3 separate regions of the Homo sapiens genome follow, and regions 1 and 2 are each linked to region 3. The links are contacts of gene promoters, found by promoter capture Hi-C in blood cells and fetal thymus (Javierre and others, 2016). All regions are on one chromosome and are shown on one strand. Each heading gives the region's core, a stretch centred on a gene start or on the middle of the fragment in contact. The rest is flanking DNA. Distances are from core to core; before and after follow the strand shown. Region 1 overlaps NF1 (neurofibromin 1). Region 2 overlaps NF1 (neurofibromin 1). Region 3 holds the start of RAB11FIP4 (RAB11 family interacting protein 4).

The links. The method cuts DNA at HindIII sites, captures the fragments that hold promoters and counts their contacts. A CHiCAGO score of 5 or more calls a contact.
Region 1: a contact is called between a fragment that was not itself captured here and the fragment with the promoter of RAB11FIP4 in region 3, in 1 of 17 cell types (M1 macrophages). The highest score is 5.3, in M1 macrophages.
Region 2: a contact is called between a fragment that was not itself captured here and the fragment with the promoter of RAB11FIP4 in region 3, in 1 of 17 cell types (neutrophils). The highest score is 5.5, in neutrophils.

Annotation. Positions count from the first base shown.
Region 1 is chr17:31,236,192-31,240,854 of GRCh38, forward strand. The region is part of intron 29 of NF1 (neurofibromin 1); the gene reads left to right. Among named protein-coding and RNA genes, the nearest start is that of OMG, 59 kb to the right of the region's middle. The HindIII fragment of the contact is 1,320 bases long and covers 591-1,910 here.
Region 2 is chr17:31,206,582-31,211,486 of GRCh38, forward strand. All of the region lies in intron 12 of NF1 (neurofibromin 1), which reads left to right. Among named protein-coding and RNA genes, the nearest start is that of OMG, 88 kb to the right of the region's middle. The HindIII fragment of the contact is 4,191 bases long and covers 1-3,432 here.
Region 3 is chr17:31,390,108-31,394,670 of GRCh38, forward strand. RAB11FIP4 (RAB11 family interacting protein 4) reads left to right here and starts at 1,568. Exons shown (of 15, transcript NM_032932.6): 1 at 1,568-1,904. The coding sequence starts at 1,746. RefSeq lists an enhancer at 783-1,372. The HindIII fragment of the contact is 11,828 bases long and covers 1-4,563 here.

The sequences.
Region 1 (4,663 bases), core at 1-2,500, 150 kb before region 3:
TTTTTTAAGGTATCCTTTTATTTGCCTTAGATCCAGGGACAAACTAGAGAAAGGTGTCTTTGACTTCCACCTCCAGAGACTGTTACTAGTTAAGTCTGTTCCCCTGTCCTTTTTCCATGCATTTACATATTCATATGCAGTCACTTGCATGCATACTCTTTTTCTAACTCACTTCTTCTATGATGAGGAGTGACTTAGGAGAAGGGAAAGAGGCTAATAGGTAATGCAGGCTGCAGTTTATTTATTTGTCATTTTTTTAAAAATTTGAGACAGAGTCTCACTCTGCCATTCAGGCTGGGGTGCACTGGCGCAGTCTCGGCTCACTGCAACCTCTGCCTCCCAGGTTCGTGTGATTCTCCTGCCTCAGCCTCCTGAGTAGCTGGGATTACAGGTGTGCGCCACCACGCCCAGGTAATTTTTTTTTTTTTTTTGTATTTTTAATAGAGATGGTGTTTCACCATCTTGGCCAGGCTGGTCTCAAACTCCTGACCTCAGGTGATCCGCCTGCCCTGGCCTCCAAAAATACTGGGATTACAGGTGTGAGCCACCATGCCCAGCCCAGAGTGCAGTTTAAACCACCATTTCTGTGAAGCTTTCTCTGCTTGTTACCAGGTACTACCCACGAACAAAGAAATATGCTTTGTTCTGTGCTGTGCACCACCATTGTAACAATTGTGACGATTTATGAGTTTCTCTCTCCTCTAGACTGTTTGCTCTTTTACATTTTTACATCTTTATATCCTTCCATGAATATTTAGCATGGTGTCTGCCTTATAGTGAACATTTTATAAATATTTGTTAAGTGAATGAATTTTAACGGAATATCTTATGCTTGCTTTTTCTAAGCCACATGTTAAGATGTTCTTGTCTGTCTTTCAGTTAGGACTTTATTTTTTACTTTTAAGTTCAGAGCTTCTTGATGATTGTTCTTCCTAAATAATCATTATTTAGCAACTGTGTATCAGTTGATATTTTTGGCTCTGCATTTGCTGAAGTATCAACTGTAATATCTATTCAGAACTCCAGCACTAAGCCAATTTTTGTTAAAATAGTTAAAAACTTAAAAGCAATTTTTATATTTTTATTTACTTCTTATTTTTTGAAATGGGGTCTCACTCTGTCACCCAGGCTGGAGTGCGGTGGCACCATCTCGGCTCACTGCAACCTTCCTGTGCAGGACTCAAGCGATTCTCCCATCTCAGCCTCCCAAGTAGCTGGGATTACAGGCATGCACCACCATGCAAAATACAAAATTTTTGTATTTTGGTAGAGACGAGGTTTTGCCTTGTTGCCCAGGCTGGTCTCAAACTCCTAGACTAAAGAGATCCACATGCTGTGGCCTCCCAAAGTGCTGGGATTACAGATGTGAGCCACCACGCCTGGCCAAAGCAATGTTTTGTAAAGCCTTGTATTTTCTTGCCATTAAGCACTTTCAGTTTTTTTCTTGACAACTTCTCATGTCTACTTTTTTTTTTTTTTTTTGCAATTTTCAAGTGTACATAATACATTATTACGGATTTTATGTTAATTTTGTGCCCTACAATTTTACTGAATCTTATTATTAAGCAATTTTACTTTCTAAAGGTTAAAGAATTACTTAGAGAGTGAACCAGCTGCTTCAAATAAGTTTACTATACAAAGTGCTGTGGTCCAGATAAGAGAACTAGATGGCAAACAATATACTCAGGTTGCTTAAAATCAAACTGAGGCCCACTCTGACATGTCAAGAGCTTGAAAGTCAACACTCCTGTGTTCACAACATGAAAAAAGCTAAAAAACTGAAAATCAGCAGCTCTTAGATCCATCAGAGAATTTAAGTCCACTCCAAAAACTGGAGAGACAGGTAAATGTATACAGAGAATCACAGTTTACCAGGAGAAGAAGCTGCTGGAGCCAGTAACTGGTAGGAAAGCTTAGATCATAATTGACGAGTTGCTGGAGGCTGAGCATGGAGTGCCTAGAGAGTTAAAACTCCTAGGGGCCTAGTCTTGCAGGGACCCCTGCACCTTTGTAAGTTTTACCTCCAGAAGCCTCATCAGGCTCTCATGGTGAAGATAGGAGAAAAATCCCTTTATGCTTTGGGCAGGGGAAGGGGAAAAGTAGCCATTTTTAAATATGACCACAGTGTTCTGTTATCCCTAGCAAAGGTTTGCCCTCAGGAGAAATTACTTTACCAGAGCTTTATTTGACTTAGAAGTTAGCCACCTCCAGCCCCCTCTAGCGTTTCTGTAAGAAGAGAGAAAAGGCTAAGAAACTCTTTGAGTCTGGCCTGGTGGCTCACATCTGTAATCCCAGCACTTTGGGAGGCTGAGGTGGGCAGATCACGAAGTCAGGAGATCGAGACCATACTGTCTAACATGGTGAAACCCTGTCTTTACTAAAAATACAAAAAATTAGCTGGGTGTGGTGGCACGTGCCTGTAGTCCCAGCTACCAGGAGGCTGAGGCAGGAGAATCGCTTGAACCCAGGAGGTGGAGGTTGCAGTGAGCTGAGATTTGCACCACTGCACTCCAGCCTGGGCGACAGAGCGAGACTCTGTCTAAAAAAAAAAAAAAAAGAAACTCTTTGAAGGTCACACTTTAAGGAATTTGGCCCAATAAAACAATGGAGATATAATCAGATTGTAGAGTACTTCCCTTCCCCAGTATCCCAGTTAACGGGGAAACCCAGGGACAACAAAAGAGACAGAAATAAGAGCACTAGAGGAAATGGGCGCCTACAGTTACAGCGAACATTAAACATAACCTAACTTCTAGGCAGATTAACAGAATGCCTCACACTAAAGTCCAATTTACCTCAGTTCCTATGACCCAATACATCTTGTCTGGCTTTCAACAAAACATTACAATGCATGCTAACAAAAAATGAAAAATTAGTCTGAGGAGACAAAGCAAGCATCAGAATCAGACTCAGATGTGGCAAGATGTATTGGAACTTTGAAATTGTCAAACTGAGAGTTTAAAATAACTAATATGCTAAGGGCTTTCATGGAAAATGGACAGTGTGTAAGAACAGATGGGTAATGTAAGCAGAGACATGGAAATTAAGAAAGAATCAAAAGAGAAGGCTAGAGAAAAAAGCTGTAACAGGGAGAATTCCTTTAGTGGGCTTATCAGTAGTCTGGGCACCACTGAAGAAAGAATTGGTGAATTTGTAGTTATATCAAGAGAAACTTCCCAAACTGAAATGCAAAGACAAACAGAAGAATAAATGAAAATGAAAATACATCAAAATTTGTGGGGTTTAATAAAAGCAGTTGCTTAGCAGTGTTAAATGTATGTTAGAAAAGAAAATCTAAAATGAATTATCTGAGCTCTCACCTTAGAAAACTAGACAAAGAGCAATACCTAAAGCAAGATGGGGGGAGGAATCAGAAATCAATGAAATTAAAAATAGGAAAAAAATAATGAAACGCAAAGCTAGATCTTTTTATTTTTTAATTTTTATTTTTTTGTGGGTACATAGTAGGTGTTTATATTTATGGGGTACATGAAATATTTTGATACAGACATGGAATGTGTAGTAATCACTTCAGGGTAAATGGGGTGTCCATCACCTCAAGCATTGATCCTTTCTTTTTTCTTTTTTGAGACAGAGTTTCACTCTTGTCGCCCAGGCTGGAATGCAGTGGTGCTATCTTGGCTCACTGCAACCTCCGCCTCCCATGTTCAAGCAATTCTCCTTGCCTCAGCCTCCCGAGTAGCTGGGATTACAGGTGCCCACCACCATGCCTGGCTAATTTTTGTATTTTTAGTAGAGACAGGGTTTCACAATATTGGCCAGGCTAGTCTTGACCTCCTGACTTCAGGCGAGCCGCCTGTCTTGGCCTCCCAAAGTGCTGTGATTACAGGCGTCAGCCACCGTGCCCGGCCTATCGTTTCTTTATGTTACATACAATCCAATTATACTCTTTTAGTGATTTTTAAATGTACAATAAGTTCTTGTTGACTGTAGTCACCTTGTGCTATCAGATAACCAGATCTCATTTATATTCTTTTGTACACATTAACCATCCCCGGTCTCCCCTTCCCCACCCCCCACTACACTTCCCAGCCTCTGGGTAACTATCATTCTACTCTCTATCTCCATGAGTTCAATTGTTTTAATTTTTTTAGCTTCCACAAATAAGAGAGCGCACGATGTTGTATTTCTTTGCCTGGCTTATTTCACTTAACATCATAACCTTCAGTTCCATCCGTGTTGTTGCAAATGACAGGAATCTCATGTTTTGTGTCTGAATAGTACTCCGTTGTGTATATGTACCACAGTTTCTTTATCCATTCTTCTGTGGACAGACACTTAGGTTGCTTCCAAATGTAGGCTATTGTGAATAGTGCTGCAACAAACATGGGAGTGCCGATATGTCTTCAATATACTGATTTCCTTTTGTTTCAGTATATACCTAGTAGTGAGATTTCTGGATCATATAGTAGTTTTATTTTTAGTTTTTTGAGGAACCTCCAAATGGTCCTCCATAGTATTATACTAATTTACATTCCTGCCAATAGTGTATGAGGGTTCCCTTTTCTCACTTTTCTCCTTGTCACCATTTGTTATTGCCCGTCTTTTGGATAAAAGCAACTTTAGGGTGATGTGATATCTCATTGTAGTTTTGATTTGCATTTCTCTGATAATCAGTGATGTTGAGCACCTTTTCATGTAC
Region 2 (4,905 bases), core at 87-2,586, 180 kb before region 3:
TAGATAAATTTTCTCACAAAACACTGAAAGTCTTAATGAATGTCACCTTTTTTTTCTGTTTTTAAAGTTTTTTTTCTCCTTAAAACTTTTGAACAAAAATATTTTGATTAGCCTCTCACGTTTTGGGGATGAGTAAGGGAAGCTGACTCCTGGGTTAGAGTGAATGTTGCTGCCAATGCACATTTTAGCTAATTGAATGGTGACTATTAAACATAGGAAATGAATAAAATTTAGAGTTTTTGTATTTAAAATAAAAATATTTTGTATTTCAACAAATATGCCTTGAGGTTTTACAACTGATAGGAACTTTGATACTGACATTTGACTCTAAACTTAATAAAAAGCAGACTTAAAATTGGGTATTCTCACAGATTATTACTCTTAATATGGAATTTTAAAACTCCTATGGAATCAATTTAAAAAGATAATTATAAGATTGTGGAAGTCATTTTTTTGGTGTTTATGTATAGCAAGAGTATTATACAAGAGCAACTCTTGACATTGATTGGTGGTGCTTTGTCTTCTGCTTCTTATTTTCTATTATTGGCTGCTGTCGCTCACATGATCAGATGCCAACCAGTCACTGTTTTGCATGGCAGTGGGCTTCTGTGGCTGTAAGTATGACCCATTGTAACTACATCAGAAAAGTCCTTGGTTTCTTTGACTTTTCTGTGTATAGTTACCATTATAGTCACATCTTGTCATTTCAACTGAAAATATAGCATGTCTTCACCTGTTGGTTTTATCTAGTAAGTTAGTCATTTCACAGTTAGGAGATAATTTAAACAGCTTTCTCCCTGGCATGCTTCTCTTTTTCCAAGTCCCCTTAGTCAGTGAAATATTTTGGTTTTATACAGTTGTGGTTCACTCTTATCCAGTTGTCAGTAATTATTTCTGAGGATTGTTTATCTTAGATGTTCAAATAGAGAAGTTTTTTATGTCATATATTTTGGGATTATTGAGCCTAAAAAATATAGCCAAAAGATCATGGCAATGATGTTTCCTTAAGTAAACTTTAAAATGCAAGGTTACCTTTTAGTTGACTTTTTGTAATGCCAAGTACTTCACTTTTTTTTAAGTTGAAGAAATTTTCAGTACAGGTATAAGTTAATTGGAGGTAAGCATAAATAATAGCTGTTTAAATGTCATTTAATAAGATATTTTTAAAAAATCTTTTAAAACTACTTGAAATAAGTTGTTTAAAAGTTATTTATTGACCTGTTTATTCCAGAGATCTGGGAAATCAGAAGTTTATTTGACTTTTTTGCTTTAAGTTTACTACCTTTTCTGGTAGAAAGTTAATGACCTCCAATAATAGGACTTGTTGGGGGGTTAATATTCACTTCCTATTTAACTTCAATATCCACTTTACCAGCTGCCCATAATTTTCTGTGAATAAGGACTAAAAATGAAACTAAATGATTATTTTGAACAGAGGTAAAATTTGATTGGTAGTCTAAATATGTTCTCTACACTTAGAAGTTATTTTACTTCTTAGCCCTAGTTATAAGCTGATTCTCAGAGCTACATATTATTTTACCGAAAAGCCATAACTAGAGAGGATTTCCTCTTTTGGCTCAAGGACACCTGTAATAAGAATTTAGTTTTTATTTCTAATTATTTTCTGAAAATATCAATATACATTTAATTTTCAAAATCATTCCTAAGCTGTTTATGTTTTTGAAATGTTATATGTATGTATATTTGTACATAATGACTAAAGGACAGCTTTTGGGCTGATATTACCAGGAGAGAAAATAAATAGCAAATGTAATATGAAACAATTTTTAGAATAAGAAAATTTTAGGTTTTGAATGGCTGTTAGGGTAAAATCTCACCCTTCATAAACTTGGTGAGTTAACAGTCAGATAACCAGTATGGAAGTATTGACCTTCTACTCTTTGCCAGGCAAAGGTGCTAATGCCAGGGAAGCATGGTGAACTAAACATACACAGCACTTCCCCTCACCGAGATTCCAAGCAAAAGGTTTATAGCTTTTGCTTGAAAATGTCTAATGAAGAACTCAACACCGGACACGGTGGCTAACGTCTGTAATCCCAGCACTTTGGGAGGCCAAGGTGTGCGGATCACCTGAGGTCAGGAGGTCGAGACCAGCCTGGCCAACATGGTGATACCCTATATCTACTAAAAATACAAAAATTAGCCAGGCGTGGTGGTGCATCCCTGTAATTCCAGCTACTCAGGAGGCTGAGGCAGAAGAATCGCTTGAACCTGGGAGGCAGAGGTTGCAGTGAACTGAGATGGCGCCATTGCACCCCAGTGTGGACAACAAGAGCGAGAATCGGTCTCAAAAAAAAAATCAAACAAAAAAACTCACTACAGGTGGCATGGAGTCTGGCAACACAGGCAAATATATATAATAAATGGTTTACAGATAATACCTAACATCAGAGTTTCCTACTGTTGGCACTATTAACATTTTGGACTGGATAACTCTGTTATAGGGGGCTGTACTGCGCATTGTGGGATATTCAGCAGCATCTCTGGCCTCTACCCACTAGATGCCAATATTCCCTTTACCCCCCAGCCCTCCAAGTCATGAAAACCAAACATGTCTCCAAACATTTCCAGATGCCCCTTGGGGGACAAAATCACCCCCAGTTGAGAACTACTGTATTACAGAGTATGTTCAGTGGGTTGTCCCTCATTTGTATTGCCTCAAATGATTTGGGACTGATAAACCTGAGCCATTAGCTTGCTTCAGAAGTAGCAATCTAGGAGTTCTGTTGCAAAACAGTAAAAGTAAAATAATATCTGCTTCAAGGCTTTACTAACACTTTGTATTTTGGAGAGACAAGTTACTTGTTGGAAGGAGCTAATTATTTGAAAATTTTCTCTTCGACCAAGATAGAATCATGTCTCTGTCACTTACAGCCATCACTGATCCTCTTTCTGTTGGAGCTCTATAGAATACTTCTGATTCTTCCACAAGGTGGCCCTGCAGATATTTGAATAAGGTTATTCTGTACTCCTAGAATTCGTTTTATTTTTATATCGTTTTGGCATTGGAAGGGATTTTATTCTTTTAGCTCTCTCTCTTTTTTTTTCTTCTTGAGACAGAGTCCCACTCCGAGTCCCACTCTGTCACCCAGGCTGGAGTGAGTGCAGTGATGCAATCTTGGCTCACTCCAACCTCTACCTTCCAGGTTCAAGTGATCTCCTGCTTTAGCCTCCCGACTAGCTGGGGTTACAGGTGCCCACCATCATGCCAGCTAATTTTGTGTTTTTAGTAGACCATTTAGCACCATTTTGGGCAGGCTACTCTTGAACTGTGACCTCAGGTGATCCACCTGCCTCAGTCTCCCAAAATGCAGGGCTTATAGGCATGAGCCACTGTGCCTGGCCTCTTTTAGCTCTCTTTAAAACTGTATGTGTGTTTGTTGGGTCTGTTTTTATAGCTAAAGAAACTGAAGCTTAAATAAAGTTATATTAATAACAAATGCATGGTTAATGAACAGTCAACCAGAGTTAGTTCTGAGGTTTCTTGACATTCAGTTCAGTGTCTTTATCAGGTTCTTTAGTTGTCCTTCTTCACTAGCAAGTTAGCTTGATGAAAGCAGTAGCTTTGTCTGGCTTAATCAACACTGAATCCCTAACGTTTGAACAACATCTGATACATATTGGGCATTTAGTACATGTTTGCAGAATGAATGAAGGAATGAATTTCTTACTTGATGTGGTTTCAAAATCCTCGTACAGGCCGGGCACAGTGGCTCATGCCTATAATACCAGCACTTAGGGAGGCCGGGGCGGGCAGGTCACTTGAGACCAGGAGTTTGAGACCAACTGGGCCAACATGGTGAAACCTTGTCTCTACTAAAAATGCAAAAAAATTAGGCAGGCGTGGTGGCAGGCACTTGTAGTTATAGCTACTCAGGAGGCTGAGGCAGGAGAATTGCTTGAACCCGGGAGGCGGAGGTTGCAGTGAGCCAAGATTGTGTCACTGCACTGTCAGCCTGGGCAACGGAGCGAGACTCTGTCTCAAAGAAACAAAAACAAAAAACAAAAAACCCTCCTGTTTCTGATTTGCTTCTCTTCTGGAAAGACCAACCTGACAAAAATTTTTAAAATTAAAATGCCATATTAAGATCTGATGTTAGTGATACAGATATAATACTATGATGTAATAATTGATAAAAGCTATTAAACTGCTGTGTTTGTATACCCTGTTTCTATTAATACAATCTAAGATAGTATTATTATTTTATGTTGACTTTTTAGTTATTTAAACTCTTTGGCCCTTTTTATATGAATGTTGAGCCATAACTTCTCCTTTGTACCTTTGTAGTATTTTTTTAATATTTGAAATGTTTGTCTTAGCACTGATTTTACTATTTGCAAACTAACATCTCCTGCTTTCATAAAATTCAAAACTGCCAATAACAGATATATGAATTTTCACAAGTATTTGTTATTTCTCAACATTTTTTATCTTAAGTGGCATGCTGGCTCACCAGATCTTTCTTACATGCCTGTTATTCAGTCACATGGTCTAAATTAACAAGTGGTTTGGGCCTTTAATAGATATCTGAAGACTCTGGTTCATGAATTTCTTCCCAGACATGATTGCCTCTCATCTTTGGCCAGATCACATGTACCAGCTTCTATTCCTACTAATACCTGCAATATAGAAGATCAACTAATGAATGAATGAATTTTTTTCTTACATTTCTAATTAAGAAACACATTGCTTCTTTAGCATGTTTTTCCTCACTTTCTGTAACCCACTAAAATTAAAAGGTATTTGAGATGAATTAAATTTATTGGAATTTCTGAAGTCATACATTTCATATTAGGCAACCATGTTGGAACAGAATTTACATGTTGATATTTGGGATTAAGAGGTGACATAATTAAACTAATATAGTCATACATCACTTAATG
Region 3 (4,563 bases), core at 318-2,817:
AGGTTCATCCCAGGAGCCGGGGCTGGAAAGAAGAGGTCCCCGCCCACTGTCAGAAGGCAAATGGCAGTCCCTGCGCAGGATATATTCAGGGTTGAGCAGGAAGACCACAGAGGTACAAACCGAGGCCCAGCTAGGGGAGGCCATGCAGTTCACCCCGTACTCCCTGTCTGCGCCACTACGTTGCTCCCGGCTCCTCACATAATGGGCGGGCCCATCCCCTCTGGGTGGGGCTTCCTCTGGGCCCACTCTTGCCTGGAGATCAGGGACTTGAAGGTAATTAAGACATATCTTGCCCTGGAGGGCTTCCCAGCATGGTAGGGGAAATGGGCATCCCACTAGAGAATTAAGAATTAACTGGGCACCTGGAAGAAGGGCTTAGAACTCAGAATAGAAGATAAGATGGCGTGCCATCAGAGAAGCCTTCCCGGAGGAGGAAACCTCTGTGCTGAGCATGACAGCATAGGTGGGAGTAGACTCAGCCAAGGCCTTTTTTTGGGTTGGGGCCAGTCGTTGCCACAAAGACCTGATGTGCCGAGCAAGAAGGTGGAGAGAAGAGCCCGGCCGGGTCCTGCAGGGCCCCGAGGCTGGGCTGGGAAGTTAGCACAAGCTGGGGTGGAGGCTCCGCTGAGCACTAATGGGAGGAGGCCAGGGTCCTGACCTAGAGCCTGCGGCCAGCGGGACAGAGATTCTGTCCTGGATTCTCTGAGCTTGGGGCATGCGGGCTGCCAGGGAGGTGTGATGGTGGGAACCCGGCGAAAGGGAGGAAGCCTCTTCCAGGCGTGGAGCAGCCTTGGGCCCTGAACAGGCAGGCCTCTGGAAGCGCCTCGCTTTTCCTCCCTCCGGCCTCATCCTGGTTTTCTCCTCATCTCCCCGTCGCAGGGTCCCGGGTCCAGGCTGGGGTTCAGTTGCCTGCTCCTCCTCTCTGTGCCCTCCCCCGCCCGATGGCCCCACAAGTGCTGTCTTGCAGGAGAGCGCCGGGAGACCGCAGGGCGGAGGTGAAGAACGGAGTCCAGAGCCCTCCAGAGATGGCAGCGAATCCCGGCCCTGCCTCTTGCCAGCTGTGTGGCCTAGAGTGAGTCCGACCTCTCTGGGCCTCAGCTTCCTCCGGGATGAATGCAGTCACGGAACGCGCCAATGCAGGAGGCCCCCAGGACATCCTGAGCGCTCGGGAGACGCCAGGCGCGGCAGCGGGCACGGATAGCGGAAAGGGGCGCGACCCCGCGGAATCCTCCGGCAGGGCAGGGCCTTTGGGTGGCTCCGGGTGTCCAGAGGAAGGGGTGGGCTCGGGGACGCGGAGGGAAACTGGGGACGCGGAGGGAAACTGAGGTCGCGGAGGACGCGGCCGTTGGCAGCTCGCTGCGCCTGCCGGCCCCGCGTGGGCCGCCCCACTCGGGAGGACGCGGGCTCCTTTTGTCTGCAGCGTCCCCGCCGCCGCCGCCCCCGCCGCCTCCCCCTCTCCCTCCCATTTTCGCCGCGGCCCCCGCCCCTCCCCTCCCCGCCCCCTATTGCCCCTCCTCCTTCCCCTCCCCACTCTTCTCCTTCCCTCCCCTCCCCTCCCTTCCCCTCCGGAGCGGCTGGGGCTGCGGCGCCGCTGCTGACACGGATCGGCCGCGGCCGCCACCGGGCGGAGGCTGCGCGGCGCAGACCCAGACGGGCGGCCCCGGAGGGCGCGCGGCGATGGCGGCGGCGGGCAGGCGGCGGGCGCGGCGGGCGAGGGGTCCGGGCTGAGCTGCGGGCCGGCCCGGATGGCGGGCGGCGCGGGCTGGTCGGGCGCCCCCGCGGCTCTGCTGCGCTCCGTGCGCCGCCTGCGCGAGGTGTTCGAGGTGTGCGGCCGCGACCCCGACGGCTTCCTGCGCGTGGAGCGCGTCGCGGCGCTCGGACTGCGCTTCGGCCAGGGCGAGGAGGTAAGCTGGCCCGACCCCAGTCCCGGCCCGGGGACCCCAGCCCAGCCCCGCCGCCCCTCCCCCAGCTCCCCCGCCGGGTCACCCGCGTGGCCCGAGGCGGTGGCCTCCCTCCCAATCCCCTCCCTCCGCCGGAGCCCAGGACCTCGGCCCCCCCCGGGTATCCCTGGCCCAGCCGGGCCCTCGCTTTCCGCCCCCCGGCGCCCGTGCCCCGAGCGTCACGCGTCACGCCTAGGGTGGCTTCTGCGCCCACCTTCCTTCCTCGGCCATGCAGGTCCTTCTGAGCGGTCTGCACATCCACCCTTGTCTGGGGGAGAGAGCTGCCAGAATCCGGCCCTAGGCTCCCCACCCCACCCGGCGCTGCGGAGACCAAGATGCAAGGGTCTGTGTACGTCCTGCTGGGCCGGGCCAGGGGGTGAAAGGGACCGGTAGGGGTGCTCTGCAGCCTTGGCTCCTCGGCTGCACACACCCTGCCCAGACACGGAAGGAGGTGTCTGCTGGGGCCACCGTGTACTCCCGGGCCAGTGTCGGGTGACCTCTCATTCAGGCTCTGCTGGGCAGCCAGGCTGGCAGCTGGCTGTGTTGGTTGCAGCAGGCCAGGCAAAGCCAGGCTCGGGGAGTGGTGGCTGAGCAGAGGGCTTTCATGTGGCGGGGCCGCATCTATTTGGGGAAAGCAGGACTTACGTAGATTGTTAACAGGGCTGGAAGCGGAGGGTCGGTGCCGCCAGTAGGGTGGACGGAGTCATATCACTAAACGCACACTACACCAGTGTCCTCTGGTGCCACCGGCATGGGGACTGGGGACTGTGTCTCAAGGGGAGGACAAGACACCCACCTGGCTGAAATGGTCAGGGGTTTCCCCTGGAGCCAAAAGCCCTGAGAAGTGGGTTTCCAAGGCCATCTAAGGCCTCAGGCCCTGCATGGGGGGCCTGGGGCCATGGGCCTCAAATGGGCACTGGCTGGCATTGTGTTCCCAGAACAGGTCGGACCAGGCATTTCAGAACATGGGAGAAGCTGGGTGATGGCCAGGTTGGGCCCGTGCCTCTGCGTCACCAGAGAGTGGGAGGCGATTGAGAATCATCTCTCCACCCGCACCTGGGCATGGGCCGGGACTTGTGAGTCGCTGAGAGCTGTGGGCAGAAGAGAGTGAGGCAGCTTCAGGGCTTGAGAACTCAGGTACCCACCACAGGAAAGACCACTGCAGTGCCTGTGAGAGCCCAGACTGCCCTCTGCGGGGCTTTGCTGAGGGACACTGCCTGCTGCCACCATGACCCTTCTTCCCCAAAGGCCAGCCAAGCCCTTCCGTTTTTCCAGTGGCTCCCATCTGGGGCAGGCTGAGCAGACTCCTGGCATGGGGATAGTCGCGCTCCTTCCTCTCAGAACACAGACTGCAGGTCGGGTAAAGAAGCTACCAGCTCTGGCTGAAACCTGGAGTCCCCGAACTCAGAGCCTCAGTAGTGGGAAGGGCCTCCCAACAACCTCTGGCAGGGGCCACCGGCCTCAGCCACGTGCCCAGCAAGCCTCACCCACTTCTCCCCCAGCTGGACAGTTCCTGCCATTAGAACCTTCTCCCTCATACACTCTAGAGACAGACCTGCTTGTCACTTAGTCATCACCGTTCTGCACGGGGACTCACATAGGTCTCTCTTCTTTGGGGGAGCCTTTAAATATTTGAAAATAGCACTCCTGCCCCTTCTCTCCTTCCCAGCTCCATACTCCCATTTTCCCTTCTCCAGGCCAAATACCCCAGTTCCTGAAGCCCTAGGCCATTTCCATGTGACCCAGTAGCCAGACCTCTGGCTTCTGGCCTTGGAGCTGCCATCGACTAATTCTGTGATTCAGTTTTCCTAGCAATAACATGAAAGGGCTGGACAAGCAGACCGCCCCCCGCCGCCCCCACCAGGACTATATTAGCCCCAAGACCTCACACATATGCACACAGCTTAGGGTGGGGCTGCCTCTGAATGGGGCACTGCACTCTGCTTATATTAAGTTTCTGGCCACCGAAACCTCCAGGGATCTGTTTTAGAAACCTCTGCCAAGCCAGGGATTCTCCACCCTTCGGGGAGGGTCAGTGATTTTTTTCTTTTAAAAGCATACTCTGAGATTACTACAGAAGCGGTGGATATGCATTGCAGAAAACTGGAAATAGGGACAAGCAAAATAAAAAGTATTGTGTCCTATCTCTCAGGCAGCGCCTCAATGACACTTCTGTCAGACCTTTCCAGAGCTGTTTCCATGCTTATATGTCAATTTTCTCCAGAAAATGAGATCATACTGTGCATACTGTTTTGTAACCTGATTTTTTTTGCCGGTAAATGATCATGACTTTTCTGCTTCAATAAATTTTCATCTGGTTTAATATGCAGACCTTTTTCAGATTTCCCTATTTGACCCCAAAATGTCCATTTTTGCTGTTTCCTCTCCAGGACTGTGCAGTGTATGTGGTTGTTGTCACCTTTTAGTCTCTCTTACTGTACACAATTCCTTTTTCTTTTCTTTTCTTTTCTTTTTTCTTTTAACAATCCTGGCTTGTGGAAGCATTCGGGCCTGTTGTCTGTCAGTAATTTCTGGAATCTAAGCCTGTTTCTTGGCCCTTATTCCCATTTAATTTCGTCTTGTTCATTTCATCACATTGTATCTGTCAAGAAAGAGAATCTAG